Regions from separate parts of the Homo sapiens genome. Here regions 1 and 2 are each linked to region 3. Evidence: promoter capture Hi-C in 16 types of primary human blood cells and fetal thymus (Javierre and others, 2016). All regions are on one chromosome and are shown on one strand. Each heading gives the region's core, a stretch centred on a gene start or on the middle of the fragment in contact. The rest is flanking DNA. Distances are from core to core; before and after follow the strand shown. Region 1 overlaps MRGPRE (MAS related GPR family member E). Region 2 has its middle 11 kb from the start of MRGPRE. Region 3 holds the start of ZNF195 (zinc finger protein 195).

Evidence for each region. The method cuts DNA at HindIII sites, captures the fragments that hold promoters and counts their contacts. A CHiCAGO score of 5 or more calls a contact.
Region 1: a fragment that was not itself captured here is called in contact with the fragment with the promoter of ZNF195 in region 3 in 1 of 17 cell types (erythroblasts); the score reaches 7.0 in erythroblasts.
Region 2: a fragment that was not itself captured here is called in contact with the fragment with the promoter of ZNF195 in region 3 in 2 of 17 cell types (erythroblasts and M1 macrophages); the score reaches 5.5 in erythroblasts.

Annotation. Positions count from the first base shown.
Region 1 is chr11:3,226,631-3,231,100 of GRCh38, reverse strand. It overlaps MRGPRE (MAS related GPR family member E), which reads left to right. Exons shown (of 2, transcript NM_001039165.4): 2 at 2,241-4,470. The coding sequence starts at 2,302. The coding sequence ends at 3,240. Among named protein-coding and RNA genes, the nearest start is that of MRGPRE, 3.6 kb to the left of the region's middle. The HindIII fragment of the contact is 1,915 bases long and covers 2,084-3,998 here.
Region 2 is chr11:3,241,466-3,246,356 of GRCh38, reverse strand. No RefSeq gene overlaps it. Among named protein-coding and RNA genes, the nearest start is that of MRGPRE, 11 kb to the right of the region's middle. The HindIII fragment of the contact is 5,416 bases long and covers 1-4,776 here.
Region 3 is chr11:3,377,268-3,381,486 of GRCh38, reverse strand. ZNF195 (zinc finger protein 195) reads left to right here and starts at 2,341. Exons shown (of 6, transcript NM_001130520.3): 1 at 2,341-2,449. The coding sequence starts at 2,447. It also overlaps the pseudogene TSSC2. RefSeq lists enhancers at 2,094-2,388, 2,077-2,640 and a silencer at 2,566-2,635. The HindIII fragment of the contact is 5,109 bases long and covers 1-4,219 here.

The DNA.
Region 1 (4,470 bases), core at 1,792-4,291, 150 kb after region 3:
TGGTAGATCCCGGAGATAGCTCCGTCCATGGGTGGACGGGACTTGTGCCTGGGAGGGGGTCCACCATCAACAGACTTAAGACCTCCCAAAACTCATCTCTGCCTCCCTCTGGGCCTGAGGGTTGGTGACCCCCCCAAGCTATCCTGAGTAGGAGAGCATCTGTCCCCCTCCCCACATCTCCCCACCTGCCATGGCAGTGATGCCCCGTCTGCCCCACTCAGGGTGTCCTCCTGATGATGCTGGCCCAGGTGGGGCTCCCTCCACCACCACCTCACCTCCCACCCATGGTCTGCCTTCCCGGGGCCTTGGGTGCTAGGATGGAGCACAGGGACAGGAGGAAGAGCCCTATATCTCCAACCAGGCTTGACTCCACCCGCAGGAGATTCAGACTGGACCACGGGCAGGACTCAGCTTCCTGAGGTGCTGGGACTGGGGCCTCCTCTCCACTGAGCCCCCCACCCCCATGCCCACCCCTGAGGCGGGGACAACCTCAGGCTGTCATTTCACCCCAGTCAAACAAAAGACCACAGAGCTGAGGGTGTAAGCCGAGGGAGATGACCAGCACCTCACGGGGTGGCTGGCACCTCTGTGCTCAGCGATAGCCCCGCCCCGGGCCACCTCTCCCCAGCATCCCAGCACCGCAGCGTCCCCCTGCATGGTCTCGGGTGCTCCTATCACTGGAGGGAGACAGCAGGGGTTCTGAGCACAACCTTGAGGTGGGAAGAAGCCGCTAAGACCAGCTATGGGGGTTTCTGCTTGTACCCCCACCCTCCTCACCCCAAACCCCAGCCCTCCCAGGACACAGGAGGACCAGCCACCACCAAGGTGGGAGGGGCACCTGGTGTCGGCCCCTGACCCCAGCCAGTCTCTGGGGAGAGGCAAGGCCCCATCCCCTCTCCCCCAACCCCAAGAGGAGAAGCTGGGGTCACCAAGCACTCAGAGACACATGACGGGCCAGGTAACCACAGGGGCAGCATGGGGCCGGGTATCTGCAGGCATGTCTCCGGCTCTGAGCACCTGGCAGTCTCCTAGAGTCTATTACTTGCTGTATTTCTGGCAAAGCTGTGATGAAGACTCCGATTCCAGCCTAGGTCCCCTGGGATTTGTGCTGCCTCCCAGGACTCAGTACCCCTCCCGCAGGACCTGTCCCCGTGAGCCGACTGCCTTGGGAGGGGATGGAGGGAGGCTGGAGACGCCATGGAAGCTCAGGGCCCCTCCCAGCCCCATCATCAGACAGCTCCCTCTTCTCCCCATGGGGAAAGGGCGGGCAACGTTGAGCAGGATGCAGCCTCCTCATGTGCCCCCTACCCTGCAGAGGGCTGGAGTCCTGCTGTAGGACAGCAGGGACATGGCCAGGGGAAAGGGAGTTTTCCTGTGGCCCTGATGTGGCTGCATGGTGTGACCAAGCTGGAGGGCTGGGGACTGGGAGCCCACTGGCAAACAACCCCTCATGGATGTCAAGGAAAGGCCTCAAAGAGTTGAGGGCTGCTTTAAGATGATGACGAAAAGCCCCACAGCCACTGTAAGCTGTCCCTCTGTGGTCACACCACTCATTAGACATGGGCGGTGCCTCCTGCTCTGCCTATGACTTTAAAATAAGTCATATTTTATTCTTTGGGAGTCCAAGGCAGGCGGATCACGAGGTCAGGAGTTCGAGACCAGCCTGGCCAATATGGTGAAACCCTGTCTCTACTAAAAATGCAATAAATTAGCTGGGCATGGTGATGCACGCCTGTAATCCCAGCTCTTCGGGAGGCTGAGACAGGAGAATCACTTGAACCCGGGAGGCAGAGGTTGCAGTGAGCCGAGATGGTGCCATTGCACTCTAGCCTGGGGCAACAGAGCCAGACTCCATCTCCAAAAAAAAAAAAAAAAAAAAAAAAAAAAAGCCCATTCTGAGGATCAAGGCACCACTAGCAACAGGGAGCCCCATGGGTCTCAGACCCTCTCCCCACATCTCCTGGTCCCTGCCCCCACCTGGCCTACAGGGACCAGCCCCACGGAAGGCTCTTGAGGCCAGGTAACCATGGGGAGGGGAGGAATGGGGACACCTTCCTCCTGAGTGTCTTAGGGAAGAGAAGCTTAGGTCAGGTGGCTGAGGGTGGAAATGAGAGAGGGGTCTTCTCCTGGAGGGTCTCACCATTCCCTTGGTCACCCACCCAACTCTCATCTCCCCTGATGTGGGGAGGAGCAGGGGGCATGGATTCCTGAGCCCCAGACTCAACTGTTGTGGTTTACAGGGGCATCAGGAGAGAGAGCGAGCAGAACACACTCCTGCAGCATCCCCTGGCCCCCCGCCCCATGATGGAGCCCAGAGAAGCTGGACAGCACGTGGGGGCCGCCAACGGCGCCCAGGAGGATGTGGCCTTCAACCTCATCATCCTGTCCCTCACCGAGGGGCTCGGCCTCGGTGGGCTGCTGGGGAATGGGGCAGTCCTCTGGCTGCTCAGCTCCAATGTCTACAGAAACCCCTTCGCCATCTACCTCCTGGACGTGGCCTGCGCGGATCTCATCTTCCTTGGCTGCCACATGGTGGCCATCGTCCCCGACTTGCTGCAAGGCCGGCTGGACTTCCCGGGCTTCGTGCAGACCAGCCTGGCAACGCTGCGCTTCTTCTGCTACATCGTGGGCCTGAGTCTCCTGGCGGCCGTCAGCGTGGAGCAGTGCCTGGCCGCCCTCTTCCCAGCCTGGTACTCGTGCCGCCGCCCACGCCACCTGACCACCTGTGTGTGCGCCCTCACCTGGGCCCTCTGCCTGCTGCTGCACCTGCTGCTCAGCGGCGCCTGCACCCAGTTCTTCGGGGAGCCCAGCCGCCACTTGTGCCGGACGCTGTGGCTGGTGGCAGCGGTGCTGCTGGCTCTGCTGTGTTGCACCATGTGTGGGGCCAGCCTTATGCTGCTGCTGCGGGTGGAGCGAGGCCCCCAGCGGCCCCCACCCCGGGGCTTCCCTGGGCTCATCCTCCTCACCGTCCTCCTCTTCCTCTTCTGCGGCCTGCCCTTCGGCATCTACTGGCTGTCCCGGAACCTGCTCTGGTACATCCCCCACTACTTCTACCACTTCAGCTTCCTCATGGCCGCCGTGCACTGCGCGGCCAAGCCCGTCGTCTACTTCTGCCTGGGCAGTGCCCAGGGCCGCAGGCTGCCCCTCCGGCTGGTCCTCCAGCGAGCGCTGGGAGACGAGGCTGAGCTGGGGGCCGTCAGGGAGACCTCCCGCCGGGGCCTGGTGGACATAGCAGCCTGAGCCCTGGGGCCCCCGACCCCAGCTGCAGCCCCCGTGAGGCAAGAGGGTGACTTGGGGAAGGTGGTGGGGTCAGAGGCTGGGGCCAGCCGGACCTGGAGGAGGCCTTGGTGGGTGACCCGGTCATGTGCTGTCAAAGTTGTGACCCTTGGTCTGGAGCATGAGGCTCCCCTGGGAGGCAGCTGGAAAGGCAAGGTCTCTACATGCCCAGGCAGGCGGGCCGGGTCTCTGGGGAGAAGGCCGAGGAACGTGCATTTTTGGGAAACCTCCCCAACGGTTCACGCACTGGCACTCGAGAGCTGCTGCTGCTACCCATTCCCTGCTCAGCTGCAGTGAGGAGACCCCGGAAAGCAAGGAAGCAAGGCCAGACGCCAGGTGAGGGGCAGGTCCAGGCCTTTCCGCAGGCCACCTCCCCTCCCACTCCAGCTTCCTCAATGCTGCAGGTGCACCCACAGATAACACAACCATCCCCTCAGCTCGCCTTGTGCCCGCTGTGGAAGCTAAATTGACCCTAAAATGGAAGACTGCCCAAAACTTGACCCCCTCCCCGTCCTTGATCATCAGCCAGTTGCTCAAGGCCGTGCACCTCAGACCGGGACGATGCAACCCTCACTCGGAGCTTCAGAAAAGCCGGCCCCATGGGTGTCCCTGGATATTAGGAGGGTGCACCCTGGGTGGGTGGAGAGGCTTCTTACAGCCCCACCCAGCAGCCTGCAGCCCTGTCTCCCCACAGGACCCAGGTCTTCAGCAACCAGAAAGCTTCACACCGGCCCCATCCAAGGCAGTTCACCCGCCTCTGTCCTGAGCAAGTCCCGCTCCAGAGGATCCCTCTGAGGAAGGAACCCAGGCTTCACCCCTCAACAGGTTTCCGAGCTTCCGCTGAGTGCCAGGCCTGGCTGCCATCCAGGAGCATGTGCCAGGGGTGCTAGAGTGGGGGCTTTGGAGCCCACAGCCTGGGCTGAGCCCCGCTAGCCACCCCACTGTGCTGCCAAGGCCATCTCTGAACATCCCTACGCCTCTGTTTGCTGGTCTGTAAAATATGAGAACCCAGTGCTTTGAGGCCTGTCCAGCCTCTCGTGAGCCCAAGAGAAATGTCTGTCGATTCTACTGCCACCAACGCCACACATCCAAGTCCACAGTGCAATTCTTAGCCACAGACCAAGGCATCTGAGAGTGTTTTCTTTGATTTCTGACTCCGGCCTCCATGGCTGGTGATGGAAGGACATTCCCTCT
Region 2 (4,891 bases), core at 819-3,318, 130 kb after region 3:
CTGTTAAAATATTTTACAGAGTTTGACTCTTCTCATTGACAGTAATTGGCACCCTACCCGTGGGGTCTCAGAGACGACTCAGAATCCCAGAGGAGTTGTCTGAACCCAGAGCTAAGGTACCAGCAGGGGCCCATTGAAATCTCTCCCAATCTCGAACTTCTCCTCCAGTGGAACTGGTTAGTCCTCCTGAGCCCTGGACCTCCCATTTGCTTGATGGTCCTTGGTTTATTCTGAGCTGGTGTTTTTTTGTTTTTATTTTTGTTATTTTATCCAAGGAAGTTGTTGTTTAGGATCCTAATTTTGGTTCAGAGGTACATTCTAAAGAGTATTCTCCATTGCCTTCTTCTAAAGACAAGGGGAACAACCCCCTTTCAGGCACCACGTTTTGGTTTTGTTTAGGATCCTAATTCTAGTTCAGAGGTGCATTCTAAAGCTGTGGTCCCCAACTTTTTTGTCACCAGGGACTGGTTTCATGGAAGACGATTTTTCCATGGACCAGGGAGGGGGGATGGTTTCAAGATTATTCAAGTGCATTACATTTATTGTGTACTTTATTTCTAGTATTATTACATTGTAATATATAATGAAATAATTATACAACTCACCCATAATGTGGACCCAGTGGGAGCCCTGAGCTTGTTTTCCTGCAACTAGAAGGTCCTGTCTGGGAGTGGTGGGAGACAGTGACAGATCATCAGGCATCAGATTCTCATAAGGAACATGCAACCTAGATCCCTCATATGCACAGTTGACAATAGGGTTCGAGCTCCTATGAGAATTTAATGTCATTGCTGATCTGACAGGAGGCAGTGCTCGGGCAGTAATGTGAGCAATGGGGAGTGGTTGTAAATACAGATGAAGCTCCGCTCACTTGCCCACCACTCACCTTCTGTGGTATGGCCTGGTTCCTAACAGGCCATGGTCTGTGGCCCAGGGTTTGGGGACCCCTATTTTAAAGGGTCTTCTCATCTAAGAATGAGGAAAGACAAGGAAAACAACCCCCTTTTGGGCATTCCATTTGGTTTTATGGTGCTTGCTTTTACTTGCAAGTGTTTGTGTAAGTGGAAAATTTTGAGAGCATGCCAGGTTTTCTAGTACTCCCACTGGTTACATATTATGGTCTGTTTTGCACATTTTAAACTGATGCACAAGTACATCAAGGAAAAATTCAGACCCCCAAAGGTTGAGCTGCAACTAAGAGTTCCTAAGGTCTCTATTTCTCTATTTTACTTTCTGCCTGCTTTAAATCTGCTGTTACTTTTCTACTAAGATAAAAACCACTGTTTGGATCCAATCATGTTTGTTTTTTGTTTTTGTTTTTATTTGGTAAACTGATAAGTTTGTATTGATATCTCATGGTTAGAGTTCTGAAGTAAAAGTTAGAGGATCTTTGTATGAGTGTGTATGTGTGTGTTTATATGTATGTACATGTATTTTGTTATGTGTTGTGGCCATAAGGTAACAAATTGGCTTAAAGTTAAGGAGTACTCATAAATTAAGTAAATAAACCCAAATGCTTTTCAAGTTCACATGACTTAAGTAAAATATTTAATAAATAAGCTGACTTTGACATTATTGGTAAAATAAAATTAGAAATGTCTTCAGAATTACTGATATACATTATCATTTAGATTTATTGGTCTAGTAGTCCTATATTTATTTCTGCTAGGTATTATAAGGTGTCAAGATTGGGCATGAAGGTTATAAAACTATAAACCCAGCCTCAAACATAATTATCTTTGTGTAATTATCTTTGTAGGTGGGTGGATGGCTTAAATCCAGGAGTTTTAGACCAGCCTGGCCAACATGGTAGAACCCTCTCTACTAAAAAATAATAATAATAATAATAATAATAATAATACAAAAAAAATTAGCCAGGCATGGTGGCTATACAAAAAATATAATACAAAAAAAATTAGCCAGGCACCTGTAATCCCAGCTACTTGGGAGGCTGAGGCATGAAAATCACTTTAATCTGGGAGGTGGAGGTTGCAGTGAGCCGAGATTGTGCCACTGCACTACAGCCTAGGTGACAGAGTGAGATTCTGTCTCAAAAGAAAAAAGTTATAAATATGAAGAAGTATTTTTTGTTAAGAAAGATTTAAAGAAGAATAATTTTGCATGAGAAAAAATCTTGTATGGTAAATTTTTGTCCTGAAATAAAATGAGTGATTGTTTAAGAAAGAGCTGTGTGTAGTACAAACCAGAAAGTTCAAGCATGTCACGAAGGGTTTGTATAAGTCATAATAAGGCTCATAAAAAAATGAATTTATTTTTTTAAATGTTCTGTTATTGAGTTGGCCATAATTAAAAGGAAATTATTATAGTCTTTCTAGAAATTGGACTTTGATATTAAAAATACACTAATAATAAAACTAAAGAATTGGTTAGAACAAGATTTTCTTAAAATATTGATTTACTCCTAATGAGACTGCAAGTTTTTCATTTTTACATTCTATAAACTGTCTTTTTGAAATTCTTCAGATTGATGTCTCAGAAGTTCAACTTCCACTGTATCCCACTGCTTCAGCTCTTTCTCCCTTTGAGAACGCCTGGGTTGGTAACTCCTCTTCAACTTTTGTTGGCTCTTGTAACTTTTTTTTTAGTAGTAGTCTAAAGTAATTTAGATAAATTTAGAGAGAAATTTTGAAAATAGGTAAATAAAAAATCTTAAGGGGTGATTACAAAGGATCTGCCTCTGTTTATGTGCCTGGAGTGCCTATATGTGTATATGTGACATGTGAAAGTGATATTTCACTACCAACTTATATGAAAGAGCTCTAATCAGTTGGATTAAAGAAAAGTAAGTATTTATCAGACTAACAGAAACTAGCTAAGATGCCTTTTAGTTCACATGACTTTAGTAGTCTTTGGTAAGATGAATTTGATAAATTTAATCTCAAAATTCTCTCCAGTAGTCATATTATGTTAAATTAAGTAATCTTAGGTTTTTCACTGGGAATTTGGGTTATCAAGAGGTATAACAGCAGAAGACTAAGATGTGTTTTTGGTGAGGTTTATAAAAACATGAGGATATGGTTTTTCCTAAAGAAAATGTAATTTTTCCTAGTTTAGAGGCTATTTAAGGGTTGCCTTAAATAAAGTGATGCATGGCAGGTGAGCCCCAGAACTGGGGCTTATCCCAGGAGCATTCTTGGCTTCACCCTAGAAAGAATTCAAGGATGAGCTGGTGGTGTTAGACAGCAACTTTGATTGAAGCAGCAGTGCACAGCAGCAGAAAAGGTGCTGCTCCTTGCAGAGCAGGGACACCCCATAGGCTGTGTGCCCAGAGCAGAGCTCAGAGTTCTGCACTCACATTTATACCCACTTTTAATTACATGTGAGTTAAGCAGTAGTTATGTAGAAATTTCTAGGAAAAGGGTGGTAATTTCTGGGTCATCAGGTCATTGCCATGAAAAGGGGTGGTAACATCAGGTGTTGCCATCGCAATGGTAAACTGACATGGCACAGTGGCAGGCATGTCTTATGGAAACCAGCTTTTGCCTTGTCCCTGTTTTAGCTAGTCCTCAGTTTGGTCTGGTGACCAAGCCCCACCTCCAGAGTCAAGTCCCACATTCTGCCTAAAAAGGAGAAATTATATAGACAAAACTAAATGGATAAAAAGAAAAGGAAAGGGTTGGGAATGAGAAACCTTTGACTCCTGGGTGGCCACATGGTTACCCATCTTAAGGAGCTACAGCTGGACTGCATTCAGTTACTAAAGGTGAAAGCCACCAGTGGAATTTAGAGATAGATCATACTCCAGGAAGTTGGTTCACTGGATGCATAAGGAAATGCAAACTAATAAGGCAAAAGCAAAATATTCAATCCCATGGCTATTGTTATCTGTGATAGGTAAAATGACAGTGAATGAGTATTGGGTTTGGCCTTAAGGCTGGACCAAGCTCAGATGTGGGTTTGTCTCAGCTCAGGCCACCAGCCTCAAAGCTACCCGCAAAAGGAAAAATTACGGGCAGCAAAAGGTACTTCCGGAACCTGTGGTTACCTAGAAGAGAGTCAACATTGGAGAAGGGCAAAACCAAGTAACAAAACTAGATGGTATAATGTAAAGGAATTGTTCCATTTTGTAGATTGGTATCGTCAGCTTCCTAAGAAACCTTTACTAAAATGGACTGTAAGAGTAACTGCTTTAAGGATAGTACCCTTAATTTCAAATGCTACAGAATGAAAGAGCATCTTTGAGTTGATGTAGACCCACAGCTCACTATTAGATAATTGCTGATGAGTATATGTGATCCAAATGCACAGAAGGTTGTTGCTGAGAGAATGACCAGCCTAGTGGACCTGATAAACACCACTGTAAGGGCTGTTTACCCTGAGAGGACTGCCCAACTTTCCCTATAAAATACCAAGTGGATCACCCCAGAGGAAGCAGTTGATATGCTTCTTAAACAAGTCATATGGGACTGACTTTGTGATGACCAGATATTCACCCACTGAATGTGCCTATTACTCAGGTCACAGTAGATGCTGTGGTTAAGGGGACCCCTTCTCCATGGGCACCCCAGGTGACATTACTTCTGCAGAATCGAACAATGTCTTGAGAAGCCTTTTCAAATTTGCTATCCTTCATGGGTCTCACAGATGCTAATAAAACATTAAGATAGTTAACAAAAAAAAAATGGGAAATGCAAAAGGGAGTCAGGGGACTGATCCCAGAAGAGTGGAAATCTTCCAATGGTTATTAAAAAATGAAATAAACAAAATGAAAATTCATGGAGTTAAAACAAAGATCTTTACAACACTATCAAAGCTTGGATGGACCAAAGGGAGTTCCTACCACTCTCTCAACATTAAAGGGCCCCATACCAATTGTTTGGCATTTGCCCCAGATTAGAGAAATTTAAGAAAAATCAAAAGGCAAAGGTGA
Region 3 (4,219 bases), core at 1,092-3,591:
ATTCTGCCTCTATTGCAGAAGAGTTACTCTCCAGAAACTTGCAGGCCTTGGAAAGCTGTATGAGCAGTGCAGTCTATGCAGGAGTAAGGGCTGCAGAGCCAGGCAGAGCTGATCCTGAGTACCAGCCCAGCTGCTTAGCAGCTGTGGGACTTTGGGCAAGGTTCTTGACTTGGAGCAGTAATATAAACCTCTTCTGCAAGAAAGGGTAGAATAATACTGATTGCAGAAACAGCAGCAATGCTTCATTACTCTCTGTATCTATGCTCTTTATTGTGTGCTCTTACAGCTCCTCCCATCAAGAGGCCGAATGTGTTTCCCAAACTTTGCATCTGGCTGGCACTATTTTCTCTGGCTATAGAAAACTGTTGTATTAGTTTGTTTTCACACTGCTGATAAAGACATTCCTGAACATGCGAACAAAAAGAGGTTTAATTGGACTTACAGTTCCACATGGCTGGGGAGGCCTCAGAATCATGACGGGAGGCAAAAGGCACTTCTTTCGTGGTGGCGGCAAGAGAAAAATGAGGAGAAAGCAAAAGTGGAAACCCCTGATAAACCCATCAGATCTCGTGAGACTTATTCACTAACATGAGAATAGCATGAGAAAGACCCGCCCACATGACTCAATTACCCCCTTCCCCGGTCCCTCCCACAACACACGGGAATTCTGGGAGATACAATTCAAGTTGAGATTTGGCTGGGGACACAGCCAGACCGTATCAACTGCGAATATGACAGCTTTTGTGCTAGTTTTGGGCCTAGGCTCAAAAGGTCTTAAATGCTTCTGTGTTTCTCAGAACCTTGCTATCTTTATGAGATCAAGCTATCAGAACCTTGCTATCTTTATGAGATTAGCCAGCTGGAGGATGACATACCATGGTGGGGAGAAGGAAGGTGCCACTGTTGATAGCCATCTCATCCCCAGAAGCAGAGCCACCTAGTCAACCAGCAGCTGGCCATACATACATGAAGCAGTCCAGTTGTGACAAGAATAGCTCAGTTGAGTTCAGCGTGAATGGCTGATGAACTCAATCATGAGCTATTAAGTTTTCGGTGATTTGTTATGCAATAGCTAACTAATACATGCACCCAGGGCAGATAGGGTGCCAGGATTCAATGAAAGGTTGATTCCTAGTTACCTGCAAGAAGAAAGCACTTTATAGGTACTAATTCTCCCCCCTTATTTAAAGTTGGATCTTTTGTAAGATAATGTTCCGTCATACAGAAATGCATGTACACATGTATATATGTGATTGGTGCTTTTACTCACACAGCCCCCCAACCACGGGAAGAAACAGACAATCACAGCTTGATCATTAGGGCTAAGGCCAAATAGCAAGATAAGTCTGCCTCTAGTCTATTTCCTCCATATCTAAATGTTGGAGGTCAAGGCTATGGACAGATCTGAAGATGTGTTCTCTCCTCTTAGGGCCCCATTATTGATGGGCAGCAGTCCTCTACCCGTGGATATTTTCTTTTGCTTTCCCCTATGCTCTCTAGGATCACCATCTCGTCCACCCTTCGACCGGAGGAGAGATGTTTGTAGCAAGAGGCTGTTCCCTCACCTCTGGCTGAAAAGGGACTTTCAGACCCTCCACTTCCTGACATAAGGGAGGTTAGACCTCAGAGCTGCACTTTAGTGTGGCAGCTATTGATCATGTGTGGCTATTGAATAACAGGAATACAGCTGGTCTGAACTGAAATGTGCTGAAAAGGTAAAATACAGAGTGAGCTTCAAAGATTTAGTACCCCAAAATATATACTTCCTTACCAATTGTATATTGACCATAGAGGAAAATGGTTACATACTGGGTTAAATTATTACAATCAACTTCACCTGTTTCTTAGTACATTTTAAAACGTGGCTACTAGAAAATTTAAGATTCACACATGGCTTACATTTTAATTCTTAGAGGCTTGAATCCTTTTTGAAATTTCAGGCTGTCTGTTCAAAGGACCAAAAGCCAGGAAGGCCATAAAATATAAAAATTCAAAATGATTGTCTTTATTTTCTTCTTTCCATTGGTGAATAACATATATTTATTATTTATAAATAAACATAACCGCAGTCACAAGATGAAATGTAAATATCCTCTAGGTGGGGCCGGACAGCGCAGGCAGGAAGCCCCGCTCCAAAAGATCGCGGCCAGCACCTGTCCTTGCTGTCTCATTCGGCCCATTGTCTGATTACAGCTCCTGTCACTCAGGGCCTGAGGGGGCGGGGCGTGATGCCCTATCCAATCAGAGGAGTAGGGGCGGGGACTGTCCAATCAGGCACATGTCTGGAGAGGAGAGGACGGCTTCCGGGATCTAGCGGGGCCTTTGTCCCGACAGAGCTCCACTTCCTGTCCCCGCGGCTCTGTGTCCCCTGCTAGCCGTAGGTCGTGTGACCCGCAGGCACCGGGAGATCCAGAAGTGAAACGCCAGGCTCTCTGGAGGCCAGGAGATGGTGAGTGTAGGGGCCAGGCCTCCTGAGAGACAGGGAGGGGCGGACTGGAACCCGCGGTACCGGCTCGGGAGGAACCGGGCTGCCCGGGTGGGTTCCGGGCTCCGCGGACCCGAGGCCCCTCCAGCTGCACCATGGCGGCCGGGCCCCGCGCGCCCCGGCGCATCCCTGCAGAGCGGCTTTGGCCCAAGCCCAGAGCCATGTCCCCCCGGCAGCTCTTCGCCCGCAGACCCTCGTCTCCCCGAGTCAGGAAGGGAGAATCCCGACTCCGTGGGTGGTTTGTGCATAAGAGGATGATCTGTAGCCCGTGGGGGCCCCAGTCCCTCCTTTCTCTCGAGGGAGTCCTTGCAAAAATGTGAAAGAGTTTTATTTGAGCAAAGAGCGATTCATGAATGGCAGAGGACCCAACCATGTTTTTTGGGTTTGGAGGTCCCACCAGCCGGCCTTGAAGGAAAGGCTTTTATCAGGTGCATGAGGAAGCAAACCACATTCATTCATTAGTTCGGTACAGTTACGTCATCTCCTGATTTCAGCTATCTAGGCTGAAATTTTCTGGTCCTGTAATCAGAAGTTAATTAGAGGTTTGTGGTTGACGAAGCCTGAATTTTGTTTCTGCAAGATAGTCATTTGCAAGAAACGCATCTGAGTTAGATTTTTTTTTTTAACCTAAGAACCCAGGGCACTAGAGCCACCTCAGTCGGATTGCCTGCTATTTAATTATTATTATTTTTGAGATGGAGTCTCGCTCTGTCCCCCAGGCTGGAGTGCAGTGGCGCGATCTCGGCTCACTGCAACCTCTGCCTCCCGGGTTCAATCAATTCTCCTGCCTCAGCCTCCCGAGTAGCTGAGATTACAGTCCTGCACCACCACGCCCGGCTAATTTTTGTATTTTTAGTAGAGACGGGGTTTCACCATGTTGGCCAGGCTGGTCTTGAACTCCTGACCTCATGTGATCCGCCTGCCTTGGCCTCCCAAAGTGCTGGGATTACAGTCGTGAGCCACTGCGCCCAGCCTGGACGGCACTTTTTAAGAGATTTGTTTTCTGTTTGTAATCATTCCACGTGACAGGAAAGCAGAGAATCATCCCCTGACGCTATTGTAAAAAGTCTTTGTGCCTCTCCTCCTTTTTATTTTCCCTAGGCACAGACACCTTACCAGAATGTCTTTGGTTTGAGGTTCCACTTTGGAAACTTGACAGGGTGATTTGCTCTCAGCCACCCTCTGGACTTTTTCCTCAGTTTCAGTATTGTCCAGGGATAACACAGGATGCCCACCATGGCCATGTCTGCTGGAGCATCTAGTGAATTTCAGGCCCTGGGTTATTTCTCAGAGGACAGCCTGAGGTATGAAGTGTGGCCTCTCCAGGGAGCAGCTGGATGCCCTGGGCTGAGAGAAATCTCCTGGTCTACTCTTCCTCTAAAGAGGTAACCACTTAGGACATTAAGATTGTCTTCACCCAACCCAACTTTCAATCCCTGGAGACACATGGCTGATCAGCCAATCACATGCCCCTGTCAGAGGGAAAAGACCGAAATCATTTCTGCCCTTTGGACTCTCAGATTTGTGAAGGGAGACAGAATGTTTCAAAGAGCAAGAAAAACTCCACCCCGTGAGATGGTGCAAAACCTGTAAAGCAAAATTCACCTGGGACACTCAGCGGGGCACAGTGCAGTGTATCATCGGGGGTGGCCGGTGAGCACTTCGGTGAACAGGATGGAGGTGGGAGAATCTCCCAAGGAATAGAATAGCCTGACTTGACACAAGTCATTAGCT